Linked DNA regions of Homo sapiens: region 1 is linked to region 2. The links are contacts of gene promoters, found by promoter capture Hi-C in human tissues and cell types (Jung and others, 2019). All regions are on one chromosome and are shown on one strand. Each heading gives the region's core, a stretch centred on a gene start or on the middle of the fragment in contact. The rest is flanking DNA. Distances are from core to core; before and after follow the strand shown. Region 1 overlaps LOC105376223 (a long non-coding RNA gene). Region 2 holds the start of ALAD (aminolevulinate dehydratase).

Region 1 (5,672 bases), core at 1,681-4,180, 270 kb after region 2:
AAAAGCCCTGCCTGCCCTTTGAGGCTCAGCTCACCGCTGTCTCCTAAGGGGCCGGATACCATTTCTTTTCTACTCTGAATGCCCCTGGCACATGGTCCCCTTTGCCTGGGAAACAGTGAGCTACTTGAAGGCAGAAAATCATATATTTGTCTCTTTCTTGCTTTCTCTCTCTCTTTCTCCTTCCTTCCTTCCTTCCTTCTTTCTTTCTTTTCTCTCTTTCTTTCCTCCCTCCCTCCCTCCCTCTCTCCCTCTCTCTCTCTCTCTCTCTTTCTCTTTCCTTCCTTCCTTCCTTCCTTCCTTCCTTCCTTCCTTCCTTCCTTCCTTCCTTCCTTCCTTCCTTCCTTCCTTCTCTCTCTCTCTCTCTCTCTTTCTTTCTTTCTTTCTTTCTCAGAGTCTTGCTCTGTTGCCCAGGCTGGACTGCAGTGGCGCAATCTCAGCTTACTGCAGCCTCCACCTCCTGCGTTCAAGTGATTCTCCTGCCTCAGCCTCCTGAGTCGCTGGGACTACAGGTGCGCACCATCATGCCTGGCTGATTTTTGTATTTTCATTAGAGATGGGGTTTCACCATGTTGGCCAGGATGGTCTCGATCTCCTGACCTTGTGATCCCCCTGCCTCAGCCTCCCAAAGTGTCGGGATTACAGGCGTGAGCCACCGCCTCCGGCCTATTTGTTGTCTTTCTACCAATTGCAATAGCAGGCCCTCATAAAAGCTTGCTGGACTGATTTTCTATTTCCTGACACTTCAGAGCAGCATGACCTCACCACATATTGATAAGCATGCCCACTACAGAAAAGGGGAAAATGATGGATTTGAGAATCAAGAATTGTAAGATTCTGGTCTCCTTGCTGTCACCAACCTGAAGGGTAACCATCAGCAAACAACTTTTCCTCTCCGGGTCTGAGTTTCCCAGTGGCAGCTCCTCTGTGACAGAGATAGGCTAGTTTCCCCCAAACCACTTCCCTTTTCCTCTTGGGCTTACATGTAGCCTGCATTACCCAGCCTCCTTGCAGTGAGGTGCAGGCCTGTCTTCAGGTTCTGGTCAATAGAATGTGGATGGAGGTGACATACTCTGCTTCCAGGCCTGATTTGTGAAAACCTCCTCATGCGAATCTCCACATTCTTACATCATCTGCTGGCCAGATGCAGAAAATCCCACAGCACCGCAAGCTAGAAGGAGCTTGGATCCCGAGTCACCCCCTGGAGGAGAGCCATCCAGGAGAGCTTTATAACCAGAAACACCCTTGGGGGATGGTTGTATGAGCAAAACTAAACTTTTATGGTGTTTTGCCTTTGAAAATTTTGAGGTTGGTTGTTACACTAGGTGCCCTCCTGATTAATCTATTTCCCTCAAGCCAGATTTCACCCAATAATTCCTTAATTTGTGTCATGCTTCTCCACTTTTCACAATTGATGTTTTGTGGCCCAGTTCTTTTATTCTACTCAAAAGTAGCTGAATAATCTGAAATAGCAATTGAGTATCCAAAAGGAGCCAATCTCAATGCTGGAGTTGCCCTGCATCCGCTCCCTACAATCCATCACTATCATGGAACCAAAAGGATCTCTCTGGAACCAAAAGGAAAAGGCAATTCCTCCAAAATACTTTCATGGTCTTCTGTTATCCTCAGAATGAAGCCAAAGGGCTCATGCCTACAAGGGCTACCAAAACTGGCTTTGTCTATTTCTTCTACTTCCTCTCCTCTGTTGAGTCCACGGTTCAGCTGCAAAAGCATTTCCTCTAACATGCCAGTCTCAGTGCCCAACACGGTAAGGACTAGGCCTTCAGGGTAACGCTGCACGCACCGCTAGCTGAGCCCAGGAGGCTCTTCCATCCCCTCCTCCTTATCTTGGGGGTGTGGCTTACAAGTCACTTTTCCTTAGGGGGTCTGGGCCCCCTGATCACTCGCTCTGGTCCACGCTCTTGCCCCACTGATGTGCTTACCACTCACAACATTCACTGCAGTTGTAATTACTTGTCCCCTGAACTGTCAGTGTCCTGAAGGAAGGACCAAGCCAGTCTTGCTTCTTGCTGAATCCCCACACCTGGCCCAGACCCTGGCTTGTTGTCCATGCTCTTAAGTATAGTCATGTGTCGCTTAACAAATGGGGATGCGTTCTGAGAAATGCGTCATTAGGTGATTTTGTGCAAATGTCATAAAAGTGTACTCACACAAACCTAGATGGTAGAGGCTGCCACACACCTAGGCTACATGGTCTAGCCTGTGGGTCCTAGGCTACTAACCTGCACTTGCGGCACTGTACTGAAGACTGTAGGTGACTGTAACACAATGGTAAGTATTTGTGTGTCTAAACATAGAAAATGGACGGTAAAAATGCAGTATTATCATCTGATGGGACCACCAACTTATATGCGGTCTGTCATCGACTGAAACGTCCTATGGCACATGACTGTAGTTGCTGAACAGGGGCATCAATAAATGACCCAATCCTGAGGGAACGAGTGGTTTGATTCCTGGGGAAGGGGTCGTATCCTGTGTCATCCTGGGGGGACAAATGGATTTCTTGGAAGGCATAGTGCCTCTCAAAGGAACAAAAAGGCCATCCTTGGATGCACTAGGTCCCCATGGGTGAGAGCGTTCGGTCCAGGGCTTCCCAGAGTGAATCTACAAAGCCAACACGCTCAGCGCCCACAGAGAGAGATCCCATACTGGTCACCAGTTTGGGCCACTGAGTTCTGGATCTCCCTCTGAACCCAAGACTTAATAACACACAAAAATAAAGCTGAAGGCCCAGGCAGGAAGGCGTGATGAGCGTTCACAGGGCGGACAGGCTGGGCATGGAGATCCTCTCCCACAACGGGCACACTTTCAGATGCACAAACTCATCTCCAGGCAATTGTTTTCTCCGTGAGTTCCCTTGAAGCAGCCATTTGCGTCTCTTGATCCCACACGCCGATGACCTTGTTAGGTCTTGTTAGATAGATGGAAGACTGTACTTGTGCCCTTTCTCTCTCTCTGGCTAATTACAATTTGCAAGTTGAGGTCCTTCAGGTGAATTAAAACAAGACACTTGACGATTAACTTAAATAACAAATAATGTCAGCTTGGCCATCTGCCGATGGCTGGCCCCCATCCTGACCACAGGTGCCATCAGCAAGAGGATCTGTTCTCTCAGCCCAGCAAGATCGTAAAAGCCCAGGCCAAGAGACCCCGGGACCCCGGAACACCAGTGCCCGGCACAGTAAGGACTCAGCCTTCATGGTAACGCTGCAGTCTCAGGTTGGTGACAGCTGCTCTGCCAGGCCCTTGTGGCCAAAATTTCAGGCCTGCCAGTTTATAAATTTTGTCCTTTTTCACCCAGTATTAAGAAAGCCTGTGTTCCTTGACCTATCACTGCTGTTGTGTCCACGGTTGGTATAAATATTGCCTTCCAATTACACAGAATTTTGAATTTTTGCTCAAAGCATTCGTTTGGTTACTTCACTCTCTTGTCTTTCCAAATCGTCCCTTTTCCCTCATCTGAGATTTCGTCTGGGCCACTCCCCAGGAGAGCAGGAGTGAGATGTGCTCAAACTCCTTTCCAGGACTTGTTACAGATCTGACGTGGGTGGATGGATGGGGCTGGGCCAGGCTAGACCTAGTAAAGGTCAGAGGCTATTGCTGCTGGAAGAGCTTTATTTATGGGCAGGAAGACTGAGGTCCCCAGGAGAGGAGTAGCACAGGGCTGCATGAGGGTAGAGCTGGGTTTGGGCTCACAGTGGCTACCTCCTGCACCAGGGCTCTATGCAGCATCCCAGCCACCCCAGCCACCCGCTCGGGCAGGAAGAGATGGCCAGGCCCCTTCCTGAGTGATCTAAGTTCTGAGCTTTGCAAAGACCCTCCTGGTAGGATCTCAATCTGGAGCAACGAACTGGAAGCCTAGGCCAGACCCCTTGCCATCCTATCGGTCTCCTTGGCTCCATGCCTGCAGTGGCCTCAACTGGCCCATGCCAGCTTGAGCTTCTGGCGAAGTGGGTCTGTTGTTGCTGGTTTCTGTTTGCCTAGCCCTCCTTCCCCTGATCACAGCAGCCCTTAACTTTTTTTCTTTTCTTTCTTTCTTTTTTTTTTTTTTTTTTTTTTGAGACGGAGTCTTGCTCTTTCACCCAGGCTAGAGTGCAGTGGCGTGATCTCGGCTCACTGCAACCTCCACCTCCCAGGTTCAAGTGATTCTCCTGCCTCACCCTCCTGAGTAGCTGGGACTACAGGTGCCCGCCACCACCCCCGGCTAATTTTTTTGTATTTTTAGTAGAGACGGGGTTTCACCGTGTTAGCCAGGATGGTCTCGATCTCCTGACCTCGTGATCTGCCTATCTCAGCCTCCCAAGGTGCTGGGATTACAGGTGTGAGCCACCTCACCCAGCCAGGTCAGGAGTTTTGAGCAGGCATGGTCTGTACTAAAATACAAAAATTTGCCGAGCATGGTGGCAGGTGCCTGTAGTCTCAGCTACTTGGGAGGCTGAAGCACGAGACTTGCTCGAACCTGGGAGGCAGAGGTTACAGTGAGCTGAGATCATGCCACTGCACTCCAGCCTGGGCAACAGAGTGAGACTCCATCTCAAAATAAATAAATAAATAAGTAAAATGTAGCCAAGTTTTGAAAACCACTGCTTCTTCCCCTGCCTCAGGGATGGGCCTGTGAACCAAAGTGGGTCCATCAGAGTCCTTCCCTGGGGGAATTTGCTATAGACAGAAGATGGTCCCCTTTAAAGGCTGTGAGGGGACTTATGTTAGCCAGCAGCACTCAGCCCCGCAGTCAGCCCCTGAGAGGCTGCTCCTGTCCTCAACCCTCTTCCCCGCTGTTCTGGGTCATGTGGAGCCCCCAGAATCACTGAGCTGCTTTCTGGACGTGCATCTTTGCATATGGTATTTCTTTCTCTTACCAGCGCTTCTTTCTCATGAAGTCTTACTTAACCTCAGAGATTCAATGGGCATTGCGTATTCTGGGAGAGCATCCTTGCTCCCACCCTGCCGTGGGCTGGGCTTGGGGCTACTCATCTGGACTCATGCTTGTGTGTTCTTCTCTGAGGGACTCAGCGCTGCCTTGTAATCATCTGTCTGCACACCTGTGCTCCCGCAGGCTGCGGGCTTCCCTAAGGCAGAGTCTGTGCCCTGTTCTGATGTATCCTCCTATGTTTAGCTTGCAATCTTTGCTTCGTGAATGAGTCATTTTTTAGCTCCCAGGAGCACTGGGGGGATCACCTAGCAACAGGGGCAGGAGCAGGAGCTCATCTGCTTCTCAGTGCTCCCAAGAGAGAGGGAGAAAATGAGAGTGGAGAGAGAGTGTGTGTGTCACAAAACAGCGGAGAGAGAGAGAAATGTCGTCCTTTTTAACTAAACTCTCTGTTCCTTCCCTCACTGGACAGACATTTTCTGTGCTCCTTCCTACTCTGAACCAGACAGAGAAAGTTTCTCAGAGATGAGCTATGCAGGAGACAATTAAAATAAAACTATCAGGCCGGGTGTGGTGGCTCACAGCTGTAATCCCAGCACTTTGTGGGGCCAAGGTGAGTCGATCACCTGAGGCCAGGAGTTCGAAATGAGCCTGGCCAACATGGTGAAACCCATCTCTACTAAAAATACAAAAAAAATTAGCTGGGCATAGTGGTGGGGGCCTGTAATCCCAGCTACTTGGGAGGCTGAGGCTGGAGAATTGCTTGAACCTGGGAGGCAGAGGT
Region 2 (6,130 bases), core at 2,441-4,940:
GTCTGCCAGGAGTTTTTTTTCCTTTTCTTTTTTTTTTTTTTTTTTTTTTGAGACAGAGTCTGGCTCTGTCACCCAAGCTGGAGTGCAGTGGTTCGATCTCGGCTCACTGCAACCTCCACCTCCTGGGTTCAAGTGATTCTCCTGCCTCAGCCTCCCAAATAGATGGGACTACAGGCATGCATGACCATGCTTGGCTAATTTTTGTATTTTTAGTAGAGACAGGGTTTCGCCATGTTGGCCAGGCTGGTCTCAAACTCCTGACTTCAAGTGATCCGCCCGCCTCTGCCTCCCAAAGTGCTGGGATTACAGGCGTGAGCCACCGCACCTGGCCGAGAGAATATTTTTGCATATTGAGAGAATTACCAAAATGTAAGCCAGTTGCCCAAGACCACATAGCTACTTAGTGACTGAGCCAGAATTTGAATTTGTTCTGGACTCCAAATGCTGGGTTTTATATACTGTATTTCATAATACTGATAAACACCTGATTCAGTAGGCGTCTCTCTGCCCATACTGTTTCTGCTTTGGGTGCTGGAGAGACAGAAGAAACAAAAGAAAAACATACTGAGTGTATTCGTTCTGTGCTGGGCACAGCACTGAAGTACTTGGTAGTAGTATCTCATTTCATTGCAAGAATTGTCCTAACTTTTAGTGATAAGGAAACAGAGGCTCTGAGCGGTTCAGTGACTTGCTTAATGCCATTCTAGAGTCTAGTCAGATGTTGAAGAGAGGTCTAATCTCTCTGACTCACTTCCCACAAACAATCTCTGTTGTTTTCTGGCTTCTGAATCCAAAGCTGCATTCCACTGGCCTCAACTCCCCATCGCTTTTAGGAGGCTGAGGGAACAACTGGCTCCTGCTTAGCAGAAACCCTGGGGCAGGACTGCCTAGGAGCCTGAGACCGGGGCAGGGTTAGAGTAAAGGGAACAGTCTCACTACAGCAGTCCACTTTGATCTGTTTTTGAATTTTAAGATTCAGAGACAGATTTGATTTGAGAAACGGCTGTCAGTGCTGAAAATATTAAAAGCTTGAAAATTGCCAATCCTGTTTAATCCCTTACACTTTAATGTGGAAAATGGGGTATAAAGAGGCAACGGGACTTTTGGAGATCACAGTGAGTGACATACAGAGCTATAAACTGACCCTGCAGCTCCTGGCTTCTATTTCAGTGCCCTGATACCTACACCATAGAGTCATTCCATTGTAAGAGGTACTTAATAAGTGGAGTTTCCCACTCCATTCTGTGAGTGGGAAAACACCCCCTGAATCACATATTGGCAGAGCCAAATGCAGGGTGGGTTTTGCTTTGCAAAAAGGCCCTTAGAGTTTGGGAGAATTTCACAGACTGGGAGGGCACTTCTCCCAAATCAAGCGAGCTTGCAAACCACAATTTAAATGCCTGTGACATTACCACACTGAAGACAGGAGCGAGCCGCCAGGAGGTCCAGCACCTCTGCCCAACCACATCAGACAGGTTAGCTTTGCTGGGACGCAGAGTATAGGGCGGTGCAGAAAGATCCATGTTTCAGGGTCAGACAGTCCCAGGTTTGGTCTATGCTCTGCTGTGTAATTTTGGGCAAAGTAATTGACCTTTCAGTGTTCATTTCATAATCTACAAAATAGGCATGATATCTCTAACTTGCAAGGCTGTGGAGATTATTGATAGGGATAAGGTAGGTGTCTGGCACCAAGTAGCTGCACAGTAAACATGTAGCTACTTTTATTACTATTAGGAGTGGGGCTGGGTTGGAACGAGATGTCCTGGCACAGCTCTGTGCCTTCTGCACCTCACCAGATGGGAATATGAGCTCAAACCCTTGTGGGCCACAGGGTTTTCCAAGATTTCTGAAGTGGAGTCCCTGCCTTCCAGCAGGTTATGTGGTGGAGGAAAAACAAAATAATCACCACCGGGCTGCCAGAGTAGAGGGGTGGACCAGGTGCTGTCAGAGGGACTGTGTCTCTGAGTCAAGGGTGGTTTCATGGAAGAGGGGACAGTGAAGGATAAGAAGTGTTTCAGATTTAATATGAAAGTATCTCCTCCCATGGAAGGCAACATCCCCAAACTGGGAGTAACTGAAGTTGGGCCCTGAGCACTGCTACCAGGAGGGGCTATGAGCTTCATGTGCCACCCCCCACCCCTGCAAGTTGTACTATGCTGAGGATTCCAGAGGCTGTGGGTCTTCGCACAGAGGCTTAGGACCTGCTGCCAGCCCTGGCAGGCTCTGCCACTGGCCAGGGAGGAGGCAGTCAGGAGAGCCAGCTAGATAGAAGGTGGCCAGAACTGAGAAATCCAAAGCCCCACAAAGGCCCAGGAGAGCAGCTGTCATGCAGTTCTGAAAAGAGATGAAGTGTTTATTCAGCCAACCCACATTTCTTGAATATCTACTATGGGCCTGCTGAAGTGCTAGACACAGGGATTAAAGAGAAGAATGAGACCCCAGCCTTGCCCTGGGGCTTTGAAGAGCCTGATCGCCTCTGGGGTTAGCCATTTAGACGTAGGAGAAGCTGCCATTCCCAGAATCCTAGAATATCTTGGCTAAGAGTCTTCTTAAAGTTTGCTGATTGTATCACTGAAACAAGGGTGAAACTGGGCTCAGAGAGGGGTAGACACAGGCCCAGGATCACGCAGTGGGTCAGCGGCAGATCTGGGGGAAGGTCTCCAGCAGCCCAGTCCTCAGTGCCCACCATGACACCTCCATACTTTAAGGATAGATATCAAATCTGTTTCCCAGCAGGTTGGGCTTGTGGAGAGCTTTGGGTGAGCCAGACTCTGGGCCTGGCTGCTGTTGGTAGCAGGATGGTTAAGTATGTGGGCTCTGGAGTCTGATAGATGTGGGTACAAATCCTAGTTCTGTAGCTTTCTAGTTGTGTGACCTCAGTTTCTTCGTTTAGTAAATGGGGACTAGAACCGACCTCAATGGGTTGTTGTAAGAAATGAATGGGTCAGGCCGGGCGTGGTGGCTCACGCCTGTAATCCCAGCACTTTGGGAGGCCGAGGTGGGCGAATCACCTGAGCTCGGGAGTTCGAGACTAGCCTGACCAACAGGGAGAAACCCCATCTCTACTAAAAATACAAAAATTAGCAGGCGTGGTGGCACACGCCTGTAATCCCAGCTAGTTGGCAGGCTGAGGCAGGAGAATCGCTTGAACCCGGGAGGCGGAGGTTGCAGTGAGCTGAGATCGCGCCATTGCACTCCAGCCTGGGCAACAAGAGCGAAACTCCGTCTCAAAAATAAATAAATAAATAAAATAAATGAATGGTCAATGCACGCAACGCTTAGTACAAAACGGCTGTTATTGTTTTCACCTCCCTACCCCCCCACCAACCACCACCCGCACCTCGGGTTCTGCATCGATGGAGTCTGCCCAGGCGGTATCCGAGAGGGTGAACCCCAGAGAAGAGGTGCGGAGCCCCGAACCCGGGCCCCCAACCTCGGCTGCAGCGGGATAATCCAGCCCAAACAAACGCTCCACGGGACTCCGTGCACGGCTGCACCGCCAGGGCTTCAGGCGCACAGCACAATCTGGGGACGCAGGACTCTTGGTGCCACAGTCCCCGCCTCGCCCTGGAGCCGCCCTCCAGGCCCGCTATCTCCCCGCATCCAGCCCCCGCTCACCTGCCTCCCTAAGGGCTCCCGGCCGCTGCTCCTGTCACCGCTGTCTCCCGCTCCGGTCTCCCACAGACCGCGTAAGAGCGGGGGGGGCTCACCCGGAAGCAGCTTCCCCACGGTCCGCCCCCTCCACAGTCCAGGCCACGCCCCCTGAAGGCGGTCTTCTGGGGGGCTCCTCCGCTCCAGCCGCGGCCCCGCCCACACGCAACGAGGCCTGGCCAATTGGGTGTGTCGAGGGCCTGGAGGGCCCGCCCGTCCCCGCTCCGGGCCCTGCGCTTGTGCAGCGAACTGCAGGAGGGAGGCCACGAGGGGGCGCAGGAACCGCTTGGGAGGGTCCCTGGGTGTGAGCCGGCCTCGGAGGCGGTTACAGCCCAGGTTTCACTTCACAGCATTCCTTTGCCCAGCCTAGGGCAAACTTGGCTCTGGTTAATGGCTTGGTGAAAGAATAATTGGATGTCAAAGCCGTTAAAACAGCACCATTATGCCTAACACAGTATTAGCTAAGTCCATTTTTGCGGACTAAGCTAAAGTTGTTGAGTTCAGCGCCAGGCTTCCAAGTTTTCAGAGAAAATTTGTACCAGCTTCATTTATTTCTCAGGGTACGGCAATGCTATGAGTTGAGAGATGTGATGTGAAAGACATGGGCGTTTAGGAAAACTCCAAGTCTTGATAGGGGCATCAGACCTATGATAGGTACAATGATAGATCCGATCAAAGGTCTTTATGGAGATTGGAGATGTGCAGAGGCAAGAGGGATCTGGTGAGGCTTATGGGGCCTGGGTAAACCAGTAGGATTGGATGAGTAAAATGGCGATCGGGCATCATCGCCCTAGCGAAGCAATGCCTTTCAGGTGGTTCTTCAGGGATTATTGAAAAGTTGACTTTCAAATGTAGAGGACACTAGTGGGTTACATTACACTTATTCTCAGATTTTATTTCTCAGCCCGGTTCGGTGGCTCACGCCTGTAATCCCAGCACTTTGGGAGGCCAAGGCGGGCGGATCTCTTGAGGTCAGGAGTTCAAGACCAGCCTGACCAACATGGTGAAACCCTGTCTCTACTAAAAATACAAAAAATTAGCCGGGCGTGGTGGCGGGCTCCTGTAATCCCAGCTACTCGGGAGGCTGAGGCAGGAGAATCGCTTGAACCCGGGAGGCGGAGGTTGTAATGGGCTGAGATCATGCCACTGCATTCCAGCCTGGGTGACAGAGGGAGACTCTGTCTCAAAAAAAAATTTTTTTTTAAATTTCTCAAAATCTGTACCCCAAACCTGTTGTATACTTTATATTTTAAATTTAAGGGGCCTAGCGGCGTAAGGCTAGGGAAATATGACACTGCTTAGTTTCCAGCTACTGGAGTTCTGATCTGTATTCAACAAGGAAGGGGATAGAAAGCAAATAATGTTTGCTGTGCATTAAAGAGTCAGGGACAGTACCATGCATTTTACATTCATTTATCTAATCTTGACAGCAACGATGTTACTATTCTCACTTTACGGATTGGGAAAACAATTGCCAGCTAGATTAAATAATTTGCCCCATGTTACACTGGGCTCTCTCTGCAATGCCTGCTAATAACCACACTCCATAGGGGCAATTATTATTTGTTTTTTCCTAGATTCCCTGCCCGACATTTCTTTCCTGACACTCATTCCTTCCCTGAGGTTATTGGTAACTAAAAATAATTAGAACCATCTAAGAACCCAAATAGAACGGGAAATTTTAAAATGTTGCTGTTTGGTGTAGCTTATTTCCCCCATGTCTTTTCTTCTTCTTGACTGAAAGACCTGTTCCCACTCTCCCCCCAGCCTCCACCTTTTGAAACATTTTACCTTAATCTTTCAGTATTGTGAATGCAATAATATGAATAAATCTTAAACATATTGTTGAGTAAAAGAAGTGAGACACAAAATAGTATATAATATGATTTCATTTATATTAACTACACAATCAAGCAAAATTAAGCTGTGTTGTTAGGACTCAGAATAGTGATTTCCACTGGGGAGATGGGGAGGATTGAAAGGGAGATTAGGCTGGGTGTGGTGGCTCACACCTGTAATCCTAGCACTTTGGGAGGCCAAGGCTGGTGGATCGCTTGAGCCCAGGAGTTCAAGACCAACCTTGGCAACATGGCGAAACAGTCTCTACAAAAATTACAAAAAGTAGCTGGGCATGGTGGTGGACACCTGTAGTCCCAGCTACTTGGGAGGCTGACATGGGAGGATTGCTTGAGCCTGGGAGGTCAAGGCTGCGGTAAGCTGTGATCGTACCACTGCACTCCAGCCTGGATGACAGAGCAAGACCCTGTCTCCAGAAAAAAAAAAAAAAAAAAAAAAAAAAAAGGCGGCAGGGGGAGACTAAAGAGGTTTCTTTGGATGCAGTTAATGTTTATTGGTCTGGGTGTGAGTTACATGGCTGTGTTTAATTCGTGAAAATTCATTAAGCTCCACACTTATTTGTGTCTTTTAGTATGTATATTTCGTTTCAATAAAAAGTTAAAACTAAACTATTCTGAGTGTC

What was found. The method cuts DNA at HindIII sites, captures the fragments that hold promoters and counts their contacts. A contact is called where the count stands out against the background at its distance.
Region 1: a contact is called between a fragment that was not itself captured here and the fragment with the promoter of ALAD in region 2, in 1 of the 25 tissues and cell types used here (IMR-90 fibroblasts).

The regions. Positions count from the first base shown.
Region 1 is chr9:113,668,765-113,674,436 of GRCh38, forward strand. All of the region lies in intron 2 of LOC105376223 (a long non-coding RNA gene), which reads left to right. Among named protein-coding and RNA genes, the nearest start is that of ZNF618, 200 kb to the right of the region's middle. The HindIII fragment of the contact is 8,145 bases long and covers 1-5,672 here.
Region 2 is chr9:113,397,594-113,403,723 of GRCh38, forward strand. It overlaps ALAD (aminolevulinate dehydratase), which reads right to left and starts at 3,691. Exons shown (of 12, transcript NM_000031.6): 1 at 3,619-3,691. RefSeq lists an enhancer at 2,847-3,427 and silencers at 3,443-3,492, 3,643-4,002. The HindIII fragment of the contact is 12,556 bases long and covers 1-6,130 here.